2 separate regions of the Homo sapiens genome follow, and region 1 is linked to region 2. The links are contacts of gene promoters, found by promoter capture Hi-C in blood cells and fetal thymus (Javierre and others, 2016). All regions are on one chromosome and are shown on one strand. Each heading gives the region's core, a stretch centred on a gene start or on the middle of the fragment in contact. The rest is flanking DNA. Distances are from core to core; before and after follow the strand shown. Region 1 has its middle 9.6 kb from the start of OR10P1. Region 2 holds the start of NEUROD4 (neuronal differentiation 4).

Region 1 (3,047 bases), core at 129-2,628, 610 kb after region 2:
GGCCATTCTATTGTTCAAAAAAGGCCAGGTGGTTCTGGGGAATGAAGTTACAGGGTAATCCCAATGAGTCCTGTGAGCATTGGCACATTGTCTCACTTGTTTTGCTATATATTTTTTCCTTGATTAGATGCAATATTATGTGAAATATCATGACAACAAATGCAGCATTCAGTAAGTCCGTGGATGGTGACACTTGCAGATGCAGGCAGACAGGAAAGATAAATCCATGCCCAGAGTAAGTGATTATCCCAGTGAGTGCAGAGCATTGCCTCCTTCAGGCAAGGGGTACAATGTAATCAAACTATCCCCAGGCATATTAGTTACCCATTGCTATGTAACAAATTACTACAAAACTTCCCTGCCTAAAACCACAGACAATTATCATCTCACAGTTTGAGTTGGTCAAGAATCCAGGAGAGAGCAATGAGCTGGGTGCCTCTCGCTCAGGGTCTCTCACGAGGATGGAGTCAAGCTGTCACCGAGGGTGCAGTCACTTAAGGGACAACTGAGGTTGGAAAATCCACTTCTAAACTCATTCATGTGCCTGTTGGCAGGCCTCAGATCTATTTCCAGGTTCACTCACATGGTTGCTGGCAGGCTTTGGCTCTTCCTCATGTGAGTCTCTCCACAGGCTGCCGAGTGTCCTCAATATGGCAACTTGTGAGAAGGGGGAAGAGAAAGACAGAGACAGAGGCAGAGGAGAACCAGACAGGACCCAAGATGAAAGCCAAGTCTTTTTGCAACATAATGTCAGATATCCCATCACTTTTGCCATGTTCCCTTCATTAAAAGCAGGTCACTGGTTCCAACCTACACTAAAAGGGAGAGAATTACACAAATGCATGAGTATCAGAAGATGAGTTTCATGGAGAACTATCTTAGAGGCTGCCTACTACACCAAGCTATTGTTACTGGCAAGTTACACACTCAGCCATGGCATAGCCAGACCAGCCTTGGTGAGGGGAACCATTGTCGGTAAGCCTGTGCCTAACCTTCATCCCTTCCGCCATGGACATTTTGATTGTGATCCCTTGAATAAGCACTGGAGATGCTGGAGAAGGCTGACTGACATCTACCAGCTGGGTCATCTTGATCCCTAAGTATTAACAGTATCTTCTGTAGTGAGAGACCTTTCGTGAGCATCCACATTGTCTCACCATTGTCCCACATATTCACAAATAGTCTCGCAGTCTGGACCCATTTTCAAAAGCTCATTCATAGAATAGTAAGATGGTTGAGAGCATGAACTCTGCAGCCAGATCACCTGGATTCAAATGCCAGCTCAGCCATTTACTAGCTGTATGGTCTTGTTCAAGTGCCTAACCACGCTATGCCTCAGATTCCTCTTCAGTAAAGTCAGCATAATAGTTGAAACTACCCCACAGTGTTTTGGGAGGATTCAGTAAGTTAATATATAAAAAGTGCTTAGAACAATATCTGACACAGAGTGAGCATTACAGAAGTGTTAGTGATGATGATGATGGTGATGATGATGATCCCCAGAATGCCTTGTCACTCATTCTCCTGTATTGTTCCTTCTACTTCCTAAACCTCCTGCCAAACAAACCATTAGCTGCTGCTCATGGATCAATGTAAATCCATATCTCAGGCCATCCTTCTTCCAGGAAAAGCAGACTCTTTAAGTTGTACTATCAAAATTCTGCTCAGCAGGCATTTTTCTTCTCCACTCTTCCTCAGGTCACCCCTTTTTTCCTCAGGGTCAACCCCCATTACTGGGGCTATAATGCCATAGATGTCCATATCTAGTTAGTCCCAGCAGAGTTGTGCAAAGTTCTCTGTAAAGCTGGGCCCAAATATTTTTCCTCCTCCATCAACCAGTCATGAGGAACACTACATGAGGCCATAGGAAGAAAGGACATTAGTGTGTCAAGAATAGACATGACGGGAGTGTGGACCATGAACTGGTGGAATGTCCTTGTGACTTCAGGACTTCTTCAAGTCTGATCTCATGTATGCCCCTTCACTTGAAGATGGGGTGCTTCTGGGCCTGACCATGCAGCTTTATCAATTGGGAAACACCCAGGTCATAAAGGGCAGCTCAGGTTGCAGAGTCACCTGGTATCCCAGGGTCAGGTGTTTATCCTCTGCCAGAGATCAAATAACAAGCAATGGCTCAGAGCAGTGGCTTGTGCTTGTAATCCCAGCACTTTGGGAGGCCAAGGCAGGAGGATCACTTGAGCTCAAGAATTTGAGACCAGCCTGGGGAACATAGTGAAACCTCATTGCTACTAAAAAAGTTTTAAAACTTAGCCAGGCGTGCTGGCGCACACCTGTAGTCCCAGCTACTCAGGGGGGCTGAGACAGAAGGATTGCTTGAGCCCAGGAGGTCGAGGCTGCAATGAGTCCTGATTGTGTCACTGCACTCCAGCCTGGATGACAAAGTGAGACCCTGTCTCAAAAATACATAAATAACAAACAAGGAGATATTTCTCAAAAGTATAATAGTTACTTGGTGAAGAGGGCGTGGACTTTCTCTGAATCCTTGGGGCCTCCACTACAACTCTTCTGTGAATGGGGCTTTTCACAGGCTCCAAACAGCACCAATTCAGCCATGGCACTTCTCACACCTTCAGATTCCCTTAGTCATAAAAGCCAGCAACAGAATTAGCTGTATTGCAGCCTGGACCAGCCAATATCCTTCTCTTACTCTGGGCCCCTGGCAAAGCTACAAGTTTTATGTGTTTAGCTGAAAATATAAAAGACCTAAGCCTGACAGTTTCTTTCTTTAAGCTGCCAGAGCAGTTATGAACAGCAACCAAACTCACTGTCATTTAACTCCTTGTACCCATACCATGCTCAGGAATCACCATTCAGCGGCACTTCAGATGATGATAGGTAGTTATTTCTGTAACTGTTTCACATCGGAAGGCTGAAAACCAAAGATTACCAGTCTTCCATCCTCCAATAGTACTGAATCCTCATTGTCTTTAAACCCAATGAGATCAAATGATCATTCCCAGATTCCCACCCTTGCAACAATTTCTGGTACTAAACTCTGTGTCAGTATATGTCAGAGTTCAATTGCA
Region 2 (2,927 bases), core at 403-2,902:
GACATAAATTACCTCATAGATAAATTTCCTGTGGCCGAGGAGTGAATTCTGATTTGTTTTTTAGAGATCTGCTATTCCCATCATGTGTTGTTTAATTATTCTGAAAATGAAGTTTATTTTCCTGAGCAGATATTTTTCTGGATAGGGATACAAATAAAGATAAGTAAGAGATTAAAGAGCTGCTGAAAATAAATAACTTCCCATGAAAACTGAAAAAAGTGTTAATTTTTATTTTCTTGTTTTCTGTGAAAAACAAGAGTCATATGACACATATCAGAATTAAAAATAACTATTTTCAAACTTAAGATACTCTTTTCAACTTTATGAGCAGTGAAACTATCTTTTGTTTCAGCCCTCTACAGTTTTCCTTGCACACAGGCATATTAATAGTTTTTCATTTCTGTTTGACGCATGTGCTAGTTATGTTGTTAGACCACGCGATTCTCAAAAAGCTGGGGATACTCTGGTTTCTTTTCAGATTGTATAAATGTTTTGCCTTTTGCCAAAACGCCTGAGGAATTATCCTTCAAGTCAATTTCTAAAAGAAGTTGAACTTGGATTCGTAACTCTATCAGGCTACTGATGGAAAAACTCATTTTACAGATATGAAAACTGATGCCCAGAGTGAAGTTGACTTATTCAAGATCATTCAGCCAATTGCTTAATCTGAGCACCTTTCTTTTTCCTTCTTGGAAACACAAGATGATTAGAAAATCTTTGGTATCTTAAGTTCACAATCATTTATTTTTCCTTGGTGTAGTTTTAAATAAGATAGTATGAATATCTATATACTTAAATTATTCCAGATGTAGTTTTCTTTCTGTCTTCTAGCAATTTAATTCAACCTCCTAATACCAAAGGAGTTTTAGGAATTATTATGAGCCTTCTCTTCTTCTAAGCTTATTACTACTCAGGTGGACTTTTTCTACGTGAATGCTTAATGATGTATTTTTGAAAAACAATAGTAGATCTCAGTTTGTAACTCAAGGAACTAACTGCCCTTAAAATGAAGGATTTTATTAATTTCCTTTTTGTTTTTATAAATTTAAAGTGATCAGAAAGTTGAAAGAATAGCACAACAAATATAGCTTCACCTAAATTCACAAATTAAAAGTTTTAATGAGAGTAGCTTTGACGTGCTGAAAAGGTGGGAGAGACATACTTCTTCCTTCTACTTTTAGAACGCTGAAGTTTATAAGCCAAAGACCCCAGTCCACATGTGTAAGGAAGCAGCCACTGATGCTGTGTCCTTGACACGCATCTTTCTCACCTTTTGATTCTTTTCAGACGTGGGTCAGCAGCGTCATCTGCCCTTTTTAGCTCTCTCTCCAAGTCTATCCCCAATTTTCTTTCTCCATTCTGTCCACACTACTCCGCTCCCATTTCTTATCTTTTTAATCACAAAGGTTTCCAGTCCTCTTTTTCTTTACTCCTTAACTTCAGCAACTCTCCTCCCCTGCTCCCCTTCCACCAACCCCCATCTCTATTTAAACAAACAAACGGGCGGCAAAACTGGACCTGGCCGGAGGAGCCTTTCAAGTGGGCGTGTCTTTCGGCTGGGGAAAAGGGAGGAGTTAGACTCTGGGCAACATCACTCCTCCCTGGTCAGCTGGGAGAGCAATCAAAACTGCAGCAAGTCAGAGGCTCCGGCCAGAGAGCAGGAGCTGCCCAGAGGCTTGTGGTCCTGAAAGCTCCTCTCCGGGGAGCTAACCAGGGAGAGGAGGTACTGAAGAGCGACTAAACTGGCTGCAGCGGAGAGATCAGCCCGAAGGCGTCCTTGAGGAGCATACGGAACTCCAAGGAAGGAGTAGAATAAGGAGCAGGCAGAGAAACCAGACCCGGTGGAATCTCTAAGAGGTAACAACCGGGTTTGACATGGATCGCTGAAAGCGTCTCTTCTACCATCTGGATGGTCAGGGAGACTTGGCTTCTCTGACTGTCCTCTAAGACGCAGATTCACAGAGTTCACTCCAGGAACGGCCAGTGACCGAGGTGAGCCAGTGGTTGGGGTGGTAAGGGGGCTAAAGTTTCTGTGGGAAGTTCCCACTCACCTAGAGGAGCAGTTGGGGTGAGGAAAGTCTCTTCTGGGTAAGGCAGGAGGAAGTGAGATTTAGGAAACTTGGAATGTAGAAGCTAGTGAGTTGGAACACTTAGGGACAAATATAAACATTTTAAATAATTTTATTAAATTTTATAGCACTTGCCACCCAAAGTGAAACACATAGACACTCACAATCATTTTAATAAAGTGAAGAATACAGATGATCTCCCCCAATTCCTGTCAAAGCCACTCTTTCATTTTGTTAGTGGTGAAAATGTCGAAAAGTTTAACTGCTTTTCCAAGGTGGCCCAGCAAGTAGGTTGGAAGAATTGACCCAATCCACCACTCTGCTCACAGCATTTTAGGGCTATGCAAGGACGGAGGGGGAGGCAGGGAAAGGAAAACAGAATGAGGAATCAGAGAAGATTGTGGAAAATCCTCGGGGTAGATTCTCACCATTAACTATTTTGTTTACTAAAAATGCTTGAATAGTTGGCACAGGGTGGGGGAAATTTCCTTTTCCTCAGCTCTTTCAGATGGGAAATTAGAAGAAAAAGATTGTCCAAGTATATTTTTCCTTTCTCTGCTTCACACTCATCATTTGCCCGCAAAAAAAGTATACTCAGAAAATACTAATTAAATGTAAAATACCCACCCCCATTTTTTTGACAGAGGAAGCAGAGGTGAAATGCTGAAGAACATGCAGGGAAAAATAAGGGACTGAATAACTTCTGTTAACTATTAAGATCTGAGGCAATGGCACCTGAAGTATTACATGGCTTTGCTGGACAAAATGTGTGTGTATGTGCATGCATGTACATACATGTGCACATATATTAATAAAGGGGAAAATAGTAGAGTAGAAAAGAAGAGCATAGAGCAAACT

What was found. The method cuts DNA at HindIII sites, captures the fragments that hold promoters and counts their contacts. A CHiCAGO score of 5 or more calls a contact.
Region 1: a contact is called between a fragment that was not itself captured here and the fragment with the promoter of NEUROD4 in region 2, in 4 of 17 cell types (neutrophils, M0 macrophages, M2 macrophages and 1 more). The highest score is 6.8, in neutrophils.

What each region holds. Positions count from the first base shown.
Region 1 is chr12:55,625,800-55,628,846 of GRCh38, forward strand. No RefSeq gene overlaps it. Among named protein-coding and RNA genes, the nearest start is that of OR10P1, 9.6 kb to the right of the region's middle. The HindIII fragment of the contact is 3,558 bases long and covers 1-3,047 here.
Region 2 is chr12:55,018,322-55,021,248 of GRCh38, forward strand. NEUROD4 (neuronal differentiation 4) reads left to right here and starts at 1,653. Exons shown (of 2, transcript NM_021191.3): 1 at 1,653-1,992. The HindIII fragment of the contact is 8,784 bases long and covers 898-2,927 here.